4 separate regions of the Homo sapiens genome follow, and regions 1, 2 and 4 are each linked to region 3. The links are contacts of gene promoters, found by promoter capture Hi-C in blood cells and fetal thymus (Javierre and others, 2016). All regions are on one chromosome and are shown on one strand. Each heading gives the region's core, a stretch centred on a gene start or on the middle of the fragment in contact. The rest is flanking DNA. Distances are from core to core; before and after follow the strand shown.

Region 1 (2,779 bases), core at 250-2,749, 210 kb before region 3:
TCCATATCCTTGGGTTCTGTATCTGTGGGTTCCACATCCTCTCAGATTCAACCAACTGTGGATCAAAAATATTCCCCCCCAAAAAAACTCCCAAACAATAAAAATGAAAATGATTATCACATTTTTACTGTTAGAATATTTACTGCCTCTTCAGAAAACAGTGAAGAGAGTTTAGCCCTCACTACTTTAACAAAACGCTGCTTGGTTAGGCTTGGCTGTGTCCCCACTAAGAAGAGACTGCTGAAATAGACATAAAGCCCAGCCTTGGCTCTGCAGATAGACCTGTGCTGCGCAACTTGGCTTTTTATTACAAATAAATAGTTATTATACTGTATTGTTTACATAGCATTTATATTGTCTTGGGTATTACAATATTCTATATTTGTCTTAGGTACTAAATAATGTTTTATTTAATTATATATTGTCTTAGGTATTAAATAATGCTATATTTACATAGCTTGTCTTAGGTATTATAAGTAATGTAGAGATGATTTAAAGAATATGGAAGGATGTGCATAGGTTATATGTAAATACTACTGCATTTTATATAAGAGACTTGAGCATCCTTAGATTTTGGTATTCATGAAAGTCCTGGAACCAATCCCCTGTGGAAACCGAGGGACGACTGTATAGTTCTTAATAAACTGAAGGATAACCTAATAACATTTTAAAAATGTGTCAACTGGTTCCAAAACAGAATCACAATGAGACCTACTAGGATAAATAAAGGTACACTAATTAAAGCTAAAAAGAATGGAAACAACTAACCATCATAATGGAAGTTGTGGATGCCATAATTGTTTTAACATGTTTACCTAAGGTTTTAATTTTTAATGAGGTAAGAAGAGAAATAATTGTACTATTAGAATTAATGTGGAAGATAAAGAGTCCCTTTGTTAGAGAGAGACAAGTGGGGCTGGAGGAGCAAGAGAATGGCAACAATCATTTATTTAACTAAATGGTCAAAGTATAATTCTTAAATGATTGGTAAATCTACCCAATTGTTTAAAAAGAGAATGTTTACTTTTGCTTTTCTGATATGAGAACAGAATAAGCTTTTACAGAAAATTTAGGAAATAAGAAAAGTTCAAAGAAGAAAAACACAGCCATAATCCTATCGCCACAGAAAAACTACAATTTTTTCTTAGTCTTTTTCTCTATGCATCTATAGATTTAAAGAATTAGAATAATAATGTCATTATAATTTTATATGGTCTTTTAAACTTGGCATTGCATTGTTTCCCAAATTTATAATATGATATTTCAATATATAGACAGGTGTGTCACCATTTGCTTAGCTATTATTTTACTGATGGGTGTTGAAGTTGTTTCTAATTTTTTGCTATTGGAATATTACTAAAATAAACACCCCAGTATATAAATATCTAAACATTAACTTCTTAAAAGTCCATTAAATTGGGCCAATTTAAACTTCTATCAGCAACCATCACCTTGCCTTCAACAGTAGTAACCGTTATAATTAAAAAAAAAAAAAAATTAGCTCAGTTAATAGACCAAAAGTGGCACTTCGCTGTTGATTTAATTTGCATTTCTTTGACTTTTTTTTTTTTTTTTTTATTTTCAGGAATTGTATATTAATTAGCTACCTTTGGTCTTTCATGAATTCAGAGTAGTGTTAAGTGTTATTCCAATTCAAAAACAACCTGAGAAGAATCAACTGAACAAAAAAGTAGGCATTTATAGGCTGTCAAAGTCATTTGTCCACAAATTAATTACACCTGAACTTTTTCTTTCTGCCTACTTTGTAATACTTAACAATTAGAAAAAGTTTTAGGTATATAATCTTTATAATAAAGTCTGTCCTGACTTAGCAGAACAGATATAACATCTTGCCTCAACACGAAATCACCACAGAATTTCATTCATATAAAAATTCTTCTCTATACGTCCCCCATAAAAATTAAGCGTAAAATACTTATATTGAAGCTTATTTACAATGTAAACATTCCATATTATATATTTTAATGTTTGTTCATTTATGAATGATGTACATGTCCCTGAAATTTTAAATTATTTAATCTTTTCTTACACTGTCATAGAACCTTTCATTCTAGAAATGAATATAATACTTCATTCATTATACCTAAAATATCACTTGGAAATCATTCCTTTGAGCCTTGAATGGGCACTTTTTGTTTAAAAGGAATCCTCTTATTAAAATGGGATGGTGTTTTGATAACTAGAACTAGCAAAAAAAAAAAAAAAAGAAAAAATGTGATGGGTTAACTCTTTAGACATTGGCTAATACTATATAAACAACTAGTTGATTGCTGGACAAGAGCAAAATTCTGTGGATAAGAATATTAAAATAGAAGGTGGAAGATCACAAAAGATTACATTTGAAAAATGCAAAATGACTCGAGGCATAAAGAGTGGTAATTATTTAAGAGTGCTCCCGATGGTACCCATTCTGAGCCCGGATGACACATCTAATTAAAGAGATGCTATCAAATTAAAGAGCTGTCCTCACTATACCCCATGAGCAAGAAGGAAGATTGGGCCATCTGTCACAGAGAAGTTTCTGAGGTTTTGTTTCGCTTTTTGCCTTAGTAAGGACTTTGTCACCCAGGGCTTTTCTAAGACAGCGAAGCTTTTTAACTGACCTAAAAAATAACACTAGTCTCTCATCTGAGGAAAATCAAAATAACTGAATTTATTCACAAAATTACCACCACTACAGGCCTGGCAGTCATTCTGAAATAACTCCTAATGATAGCTGAGAAAGTTCTGGTGACCCTTCCCAGAGGTGAAAGGTGTG
Region 2 (3,025 bases), core at 485-2,984, 130 kb before region 3:
AAAAATCCAATATAGTCAAATAGTATAAGCACTCATCTTAGAGTCATCTGTGTTCAAATCTCACTTCAAATTCCAAAAGCCACTTCCTGGCTGTGTGACCTTGAGCAAAACTACTTAATGACTTTGAAGTTTGGCTTTCTTATTTGGAAAATAGTGATTATATCACCTGCCAACCCATAGGGTTGGTGTGAAATTTAACGTGAGAAAATTCACTCCAAAGTGCCGAACATTTTGCCTAACAAAGCAGATGACCAATAAATGTTAAATAAGTTAATTCCCTAGTTTGGTATTAAAAGCCCTCCTAATTGGCCTAATTCTTCCCCGCCTTCCTCCCAACTAGTATCTTCCCCTCAGTTTTGCTCTCCATGCTGCCACCAATGAGTCTCCTCTAAGACCTGGCACCATGCCTCTTTTTAAAAACACTACAAGCACTCCCCATAGCACACCAGTTAAATGCAAGAGTTTTAGGATTAGATGTGAATCTAAACCTGATAATCATAATAAATTCACAGGCCAAAATAGAAGCTTTTTAAAGTATCTGCTATTTTCACTAATCTATGCCATTAAAAACACTATCAGGATAGAAAACTGAGTTTGCCATTTTTACCAATTTAGTAAGTAAAAATTCTAGGTAAGTTCAAAATTTAACTTCCATTGGGAGTTTACTTCACAGTAAATTTACACTTTTGAACTCCCTTCACTTTATGCCAATGACAACAAATGAAAGTGAGATCTCACCTTTCCTTCCTCGAGGTGAAGCAGGAGGACTTTATCTCCTGGCTTATAATCTTTGAGCAGCTCTGCTGACTTCCAGACTTCCTCTGGATCAGGTATCCAAACCCTGGCAAACTAGAAGACAAAAAGAAAAAAATTTAAACTAGCAAATCAATTATTTTACAATCATATATAAACATATGATAACTATTTATAATTAAACAATTTATGAAAAAAGAAATCTTGGCCAACATGAAATTCACTTTTTTTTTTTTTTTTTTTTTTTTGAGACAGAGTTAAGCTCTTGTTGCCCAGGCTGGAGTACAGTGGCATGATCTCAGCTCACAGCAACCTCTGCCTCCTGGGTTCAAGCAATTCTCCTGCCTCAGCCTCCTGAGTAGCTGGAATTACAGGCGCCTGCCACCACACTCAGCTAATTTTTTTGTTTTTAATAAAGATGGAGTTTCGCCATATTGGCCAAGCTGGTCTCCAAACTCCTGACCTCAGGTGATCCACCCGCCTCAGCCTCCCAAAGTGCTGGGATTACAGGTGTGAGCCACCACGTCCAGCTGAAATTTACTTTTTAAATTAGTAAACAAAAAATATTTTAGCTCTCATAGCACCACCATTCCCAAATTATATAAAAAGTGTGCTCTGAAAAAACAGTTATGATCAAAGCTTGACTTTGCTTTACACAGTAAATGCCACCTGAAAGTATAATTTTAGGTTAAAATGTACACATAAGATCTATTTTTGAAGCTATGGTGTTGTGGTTCTGCCAGTTTCAACAGCACTGCCATCTTTTTATGGCTGGGTTTACAATTTGGATTTTTTTGTTCTTTCTTTTTCTTTTTTTTTTTTTTTTTTGAGATACAGTCTCGCTCTGTTGCCCAGGCTGGAGTGCAGTGGCACGATTTCGGCTCACTGCCACCTCTGCCTCCCGGGTTCAAGTGATTCTCCTGCCTCAGCCTCACGAGTAGCTGGGACTACAGGCATGTGCCACTGTGCCCAGCTAATTTTTGTATTTTTAGTAGAGACGGGGTTTCACCATGTTGGCCAGGCTGGTCTCGAACCCCTGACCTCGTGACCCACCTGCCTCAGCCTCCCAAAGTGCTGGGATTACAGTCATGAGCCACCGTGCCCGGCCCACAATTTGGATTTTTTTATGGTGGTTTGCATCCTGTGCTCTGCAAAGCCTTAGTGATTTCTCAGACATCCTTCAGGAGCCATCACAGTAGGGAGAAGAGGAGAATAAAAATAACAGATTTTTTAAAACTGAAGAAACACGGTTGTTCAGCATTTTGCCTTCATTATTTTATAAAGATGAGTGGGAAATGGTAAAAATGGCACAGCCAGTCACTAATAAGCTTAGCTCCTGTAGCCTCAACATCATGAAAAAGGCATGGTAATCATCAGGGATTCCCAAAGCAGCAAATATTTTGCCTCAACTAGATACTCCCTGGACATAAGCCAGAAGATTATGTGGTCAATTTTGAAGAAAAAGAACAAAATATACTAACATGCACAAATCTTTCGAATACCACATTGAAGAAGTGTTTTTATGTGCTTGGACTCTCTGGGAAGAAATTTCCCTTTAAAACACACATACACTAAACCTAAATGCCCATTTTCATGAACAAATCACATATGAAAACAGGAATCCTAGATTCAGCCAGCAAGGGAAAGACATGACACAATCAATCATGGCTGGCATGGGCCAGACTGAACCCGGTCTCTGGCCTGTATCTGTATCCTCATTTCATGTAAATTCACCTCTAGATTTCATTTTTAACAATAATCAGGGTACTAATTTACTTGGAGCTTTGAGAAGGAGCATTTGGATTTGAGTATGTTAAATATGGGGCAACTTCCCAAAGAACTGTGATAATGTAATGACTATTCTAAGTACTGGGCACAAAGTTCTGGAAGCTTGTAACAAGGTCATTCCCAAGTACAAGAGAAATTTATATGACCCAGTGATGAACTTACAGATAGGAGAAAGCGAAAAGAAAGTGGGTGAACGAAAGTACAGGTAGATCTGAGATTCAAGATAATTTAAATTAAGAAAAACATTTCAGCATGCCATGCCACTGTCCTGGATATTACGTTAACCTCTTTTTTTTTTTTTTTTTTTTTGAGACGGAGTCTCACTCTGTCACTCTGTCACCCAGGCTGGAGTGCAGTGGCACGATCTCGGCTCACTGCAACCTCCGCCTCCTGGGTTCAAGTGATTCTCCTGCCTCGGCCTCCCGAGCAGCTGGGACTATAGGCACATGCCACCACACCCAGCTAATTTTTTTCTATTTTTAGT
Region 3 (2,877 bases), core at 94-2,593:
CTTTTACCTATGCTATATGTTTTCTTGTTTTTCAATTACTTTAACATCCTAACAGAAGCACCCAACTTAAGAAAAGTTAACACGGTTTTAAGAACATATGGAATGGGCTTAGAACACTAATCCAATTCCCAACTTAATTAGGACATAAGTGCAACATTAAGCAGAAACCCGCACGAAGGTCAAGCAGTAGACCAAAATCGTATTTAACGGCAACACAACCTGATTTGTAAGAAAAATTGTTGATAAACAATTTAGGAGACAAGATACCTCGGCCCTTTCTCACTTCTCGGCCAGTCACACCTGCCTAGGAGGGCAGGGCGGTGGAAATAATTACAGTGGGAGAGACAAACACCAGCCTAGATAAATACAAAGGCTTGATATTCATAATTTGAACCACAGTGACACTCCCGGCCTATTCCCCTACATCAGGAAGACACAAGGGCGTTTACAAAATATTCCTGTTTCCAATAAAACCCTGATTAATTTCGTGAGTAAAATTTTAAAATTCCACCCTTTCGATTTTTAGTCAAGTACCATATTTGAGTCCCATCGACTGAAACCTTTTTGAGCACAGACTGCGCTGCACACTACACCTGACTCACCTCCTCTAGGCCTCACCCCGCCGTGGGAGGCAAGCACCAGTATTCGGCCTTTACAGGTGAAGACACTGAAGGCCGGACTTTACTCACTGACCATGGTTACAAGGGTTGGCCCTGAAATGCCAATCCTGGCCCACATCGCGGCCCGCACACGAGGCACTGCTTTTGGAGTGAACCGCACGCTCACAATACAAGTAGTTGGAGAGTTCTTCAAAGGAAAAAATAAAACTTCCTAACCAAATTGAGGCTTACAGAAAAACTTAGGCTCTACGCCCAAAGCCTGCGTCCTGGGCTCTCGCGTAAATATAAGTGACTGAGGAACACCGCGACCCACGGAGGTGTTACAAAAGGCACGATTCGGAGTAAACGCGGGGCACGTTGGAACTCCCAATTCGTCGGCGCACCAGCCAGCGACGGCGGGAAGCCAAAGGTGGGGCGCAGGAGCCTCGGCCTCATGCGCCTCGGCCCCGCATCTCGGGCGCGGCCCTCCGCCTGGCGGGAGCAGGCCGCCCGCCAGACCCGGCCTTGGGCAGGGCCCAGGGCTCACGCCCCGCGCGCTCACCTTCTGCTCCTCCGCGGAGGCTGCCTCGGGGACTTCCGCAGACATAGTGCTCCCTCTGCAGACGAGACGCCGGGAAAAGATGCAATTAGCGGGTGGCCGAGGCCACCCGGCCGCCGCCCGTCCCAGCTCTCCCAGGGCCCGCCGGGCCGCCTCCGCCCGCGAAAATGGCCGCCGCCTTATGACGACACGGAGCCGCGAAACGCTCCGCTGGCCAAGGCCCTCGCACGCCGGAGCCCGCCTGCCCCTCCCGCACCGCACCCCTACCTACTTGACCCCGCTTCTCCCGCTCGCTGTCGTCCAAACACTTCCTTTTTTCCTTCAAAGGTCGCCGCTCCTGCCTCACCTCACATCCGTTTGTGGCTGCCGAGTGCTTCCTGGGAATTGTAGTTTCTAAGTGGAACCGCCCCTCCCCGCCCTTTCCTGTCCACTCTGGTCCCCTCGTTCTAGGAGCTTTATTTTACTCTTTCCACTTACCCATCCTCGCCTAGTTCTGTTCTCCTCGCTCTCCGCTCTGTAGCCACACAGGCTGTCTTTTGGGCACGCCAAAAGTCTTGCTCCACTCTGCCACGCCTTCACATCTCCAGTCCTACGTCTCTGCCTCAGAACCTTTCCTTCCTAAACCTCTACACTAGGCCAGAGCCACCTCTTAAAGGCTGTCACAGCCCTGTACAGTTCCTCAACAACATGAACTGTATCATTACACAATTGTCGTGACTTTAGGTCACCTTTCCTTCTCAGATAAGCCGCACCAGGGCAGGGATCTCGTCTGTAATTACTTATATTTTACTCTGAGGGTCCAGCACTTCCTAGATATCTAACGAAGGAATTCAGATTCATTTGTCCACTCCCAGGGGGTCCACTCCCACAAGCTTACCGAAACTGCTAGCATTGAGCTCCCCCAATGACCTTTTTATTTGCCAAGTCCTGCGGCTTCTTACTGAATCCTCATTCTACTTGATATCTGAATAGTTACTCGCAATGTTTGTTGGTTCCAACAAAGTGTCCCTCAGAAACTTGGAAATAAGATTGCCCTCTAAAAGTTAAACTAGTAAAAAGCCACAGAAAATGAATGCATTTCTGGGGGCAGGGGAACAATTGAAAGACCCTAAATGCCTGGATAAGGAATTTGGAAACCATCGAAACTCAACCAGGATGTAGAATCTCAGACAGGAAGAATTGCACTGGAATTGCAACTAGAAAAACAAAAAGAGTTAATATTGCACTCCTTTTGGAGAAACGAAGGAAGGCATTTGTCAGCCAAGGAAGTATTGAAAATAAAAGGGTTCAACAGGCCAACTGTTTGACAAAGATATCCCTTAAGAATGTCTCACGCTGGGCTAGCTGAGAAACTGTAAGATCCACGACATATTTGTTCTCCTTCTATACTCACAAAGTAACATACTGAAAATTTGCCTTTCCCTTAAGCAGAACTGCAGAGAGAAAGAAGAGTGCAGTAGTTAGGCCACTGAAGCATTTAACAGTTGTATTTTTATTAATAAATTGACTGACGTTCTAGTATATGTCCTATATCAATGTATTTGTGAACTTGAGTTAAAATCTGATAGACATACACTTAATGATGAAACTCAGCCTCAAGAAAATTGGCTGTGGCTGGGCACAGTGGCTCACTCGTAATCCCAGCACTTTGGGAGGCCAAGGCGGGCAAATCGCTCGAGCTCAGGAGTTCAAGACCAGCCTGGCCAACATGGCAAATCT
Region 4 (2,961 bases), core at 4-2,503, 240 kb before region 3:
TAAGTCTTTGCAAAGCTCACAAATGAAATTTAGATGTCAGTTCAACATAACCTTGATTGATTTTGCAATATTATCTACTAATTAAAATAAAATGTTGGCCGGGCACAGTGACTCACACCTATAATCAGAGCACTTTGGGAGGCCAAGGCAGGCAGATCACCTGAGTTCAGGAGTTCAAGACCACCCTGACCAACATGGAGAAACCCCATCTCTACTAAAAATACAAAAAATTAGCCGGGCATGGTGGTACATGCCTGTAATCCCAGCTACTTGGGAGGCTGAGGCAGGAGAATCGCTTGAACCTGGGAGGCAGAGGTTGCAGTGAGCCGAGATCACGCCACTGCACTGCAGCCTGAGTGATGAAAGCCAAACTCCATCTCAATAAATAAATAAATAAAGAGGCAACTAGCTAAGCCTTTTGCCCTTCCACCTTCTGCCATGTAAGAACACAGAGTTCGTCCCCTTCAGAGGATCCAGCAACAAGGCACCTGCCATCTCGGAAGCAGAAACCAGACCCTCTGAACTTGCCAGTGTCTTGACCCTTCAGAACTGTGAGAAATAAATTTCTGTTCTTTATAAATCACCCAGTCTCAAGTACTTTGTTATAGCAGCACAAAGGGACTGAGGAGCCCAATGATCCATTCTTCTAGGAAGACCTGAAAAAAGACTCTAGTTTCATTTTCTAGATTCTTTATAAACTTGAGGGAACCTTTCTGTCTTCAAAAAGGAAAGAAAATTGGAAAGTTTTAAAAAAATTTACTTTTGGCACCAGGAAGATCTTGATCTCAAGTTTGAGACAATCAGATGAATTCCTAATAAGTAGAAGATTTCTGTGGGAAAATTTGACACAAAGGAGAGAAATCAGTGGCCCTTAGAAGGTATGTGTTCTAGTCCTGCCATCTCACCTGCTGCAACCATGGGTCACTTACAGGCCTTAGTTTTTTCCTCTTATGAAATAACTAATTGATTTCTAGAATCCTTTCAGGTCTTAATTTCTTGATTCCATGAAAATTAAGATGGGTGAAAATATAGCACAAAGCAGATCAAATTTTGAAACACTCTCCATTTAGCTATATAGTTTCTGCCAAAAATTATATATGCTAGCATTTTTTTTAAAAGTCTGTTGGCTTTTTAAAAAGCCTCCTTAATTAAATGTAGCTTGTAGGAGGAGGCAAGAGTTGTGCTATTTTAAACCAAAAGGATTTAAGTGTGTTGCAATACATTTAAAGAAAAGTATAAGACAACGTTTAGTTATTAGAAGGTGCCTGTATTTTCTGTGTAACAGGCAGATACGAGGATGAAAAGTGTCACCTTGATTCTCTTTATTTGGGGTAGAAGCAGGTACACTGCACTCAGCAAGTGCCCAAGTCACATAAATCTATTTCATTTCATCCTCTAGATATGTATCACTTAACTCAAAATGTAACTCTTCTTAAGAACTATTATAATGCCTTTTTTGTTTGATCTATGAATTGCTATTCTCAAATGCTACTTATGGCTTTACAGCTGTCTGGATAGTTTAAATGATGAGGTTGATTTCTGATTGACAATGGCTTAAGATTAGTAATATCTTAAAATAGTCTAACCCATCTCTTCAACTAAAAAATATACATATCAAAGAAAACTAATAAAAATTATGTAAAATAATGAATGGCTTTTCTGTTTATCAAAATTTACTAAAGTATGGCAAAGGAATCATTAGGAGTTGAACAAAAAAAGAATCTCACATGTTAATACACTTAAAATCTGTTTTTTTCAAACAAATACTCTGCTGTCTGATTATCATCTCATGATATAATTGGTGCAAAGTGCAAAAAGTTCTCTGAATAAAGATTTTTAAGTTCTGCTAATAGACATTATAGCTCATGTGTGTGTGAGTGTGTGATGTGGAGGCTCAAATTTTAATGTAATATATGACTCATGTAATGCTAAAGGATTATATATAAAGTGTGACTATAAAATAATCTTTCTGATTTCTAAACAAATATTTCAGTATTTGTACATCCAACAGAGTAATATCCTTTACAAAGTAAATGTCCATGTTGCCATGTTATAAATATTTCTGAAACTTACTCATTCACTCAACAAACATTTATGGAATGATTATGAGATAGGTCAGACACTATGCTAGGTGCTGTGAAAGCAAAGGGAAACAGAGATGTTTTCTATGCTCAGGAAGCTCAGAGTCTATTATGGAAGCCAGTAATTCAAACAGAAAAATTGCTAAAAATATGACATAGTGAAGACCATAAAAGATGTCGGCCAAATTGTGGTACACAGAGAGCAGAACCATAACGTCTGTCTGGGTAATCAGGAAAGGCTACTCTTGAGGATGTGACATATGACTCTGGTCTCAAAGGCTGAGCAGGACTTAACCAGGAGAAGCAGGATGACCAAACAGAAGGAGCAGTTATGACAAGACCTGGCATGTTGGAGGAATGAAAACCACACTTGGAGTTAATCATGATAGATTCTTTTGAACATCCTCAGTGATGGGGAATCTTCACTGTTTGAACCAAGCAAGAATTAGATGCAGAATGACAATGAGAGAAAATGATTAACCGTTCACACAGGTTTGAAGGCTATTCCAAAGACTGTCTCAAAATCCCTTAAGCAGTGAGAACATTGAAATAAGCTTAAAATTTGGCTTTAGGCTGGAAGCGGTGGCTCACGCCTATACCCAGCACTTTGGGAGGCTGAGGCAGATGGATCACGAGCTCAGGAGTTCGAGATCAGCCTGGCCAACATGGTGAAACCCCGTCTCTACTAAAAATACAAAAATTAGCTGGACATGGTGGCATGCACCTGTAATCCCAGCTACTCAGGAGGCTGAGGCAGGAGAATTGCTTGAACCCGGGAAGCAGAGGTTGCAGTGAGCCGAGATTGCACCACTGCACTCCAGCCTCAGCGACAGAGCAAGACTCTGTCTCCAAAAAAAAAAAAAAAAAAAAAAAAAGGAGT

Evidence for each region. The method cuts DNA at HindIII sites, captures the fragments that hold promoters and counts their contacts. A CHiCAGO score of 5 or more calls a contact.
Region 1: a contact is called between a fragment that was not itself captured here and the fragment with the promoter of ARPP19 in region 3, in 1 of 17 cell types (M1 macrophages). The highest score is 6.6, in M1 macrophages.
Region 2: a fragment that was not itself captured here is called in contact with the fragment with the promoter of ARPP19 in region 3 in 1 of 17 cell types (M1 macrophages); the score reaches 6.4 in M1 macrophages.
Region 4: a contact is called between a fragment that was not itself captured here and the fragment with the promoter of ARPP19 in region 3, in 10 of 17 cell types (non-activated CD4 T cells, M1 macrophages, M0 macrophages and 7 more). The highest score is 10.7, in non-activated CD4 T cells.

The regions. Positions count from the first base shown.
Region 1 is chr15:52,355,242-52,358,020 of GRCh38, forward strand. All of the region lies in intron 25 of MYO5A (myosin VA), which reads right to left. Among named protein-coding and RNA genes, the nearest start is that of MYO5C, 61 kb to the left of the region's middle. The HindIII fragment of the contact is 892 bases long and covers 1,054-1,945 here.
Region 2 is chr15:52,432,437-52,435,461 of GRCh38, forward strand. MYO5A (myosin VA) reads right to left here. Exons shown (of 42, transcript NM_001382347.1): 2 at 739-849. Among named protein-coding and RNA genes, the nearest start is that of MYO5A, 95 kb to the right of the region's middle. The HindIII fragment of the contact is 689 bases long and covers 1,391-2,079 here.
Region 3 is chr15:52,567,687-52,570,563 of GRCh38, forward strand. ARPP19 (cAMP regulated phosphoprotein 19) reads right to left here and starts at 1,344. Exons shown (of 3, transcript NM_006628.6): 1 at 1,162-1,344. The coding sequence starts at 1,206. RefSeq lists enhancers at 195-943, 944-1,690, 1,744-1,873 and silencers at 1,044-1,143, 1,214-1,273. The HindIII fragment of the contact is 6,860 bases long and covers 1-2,028 here.
Region 4 is chr15:52,332,586-52,335,546 of GRCh38, forward strand. All of the region lies in intron 34 of MYO5A (myosin VA), which reads right to left. Among named protein-coding and RNA genes, the nearest start is that of MYO5C, 38 kb to the left of the region's middle. The HindIII fragment of the contact is 2,759 bases long and covers 1-2,633 here.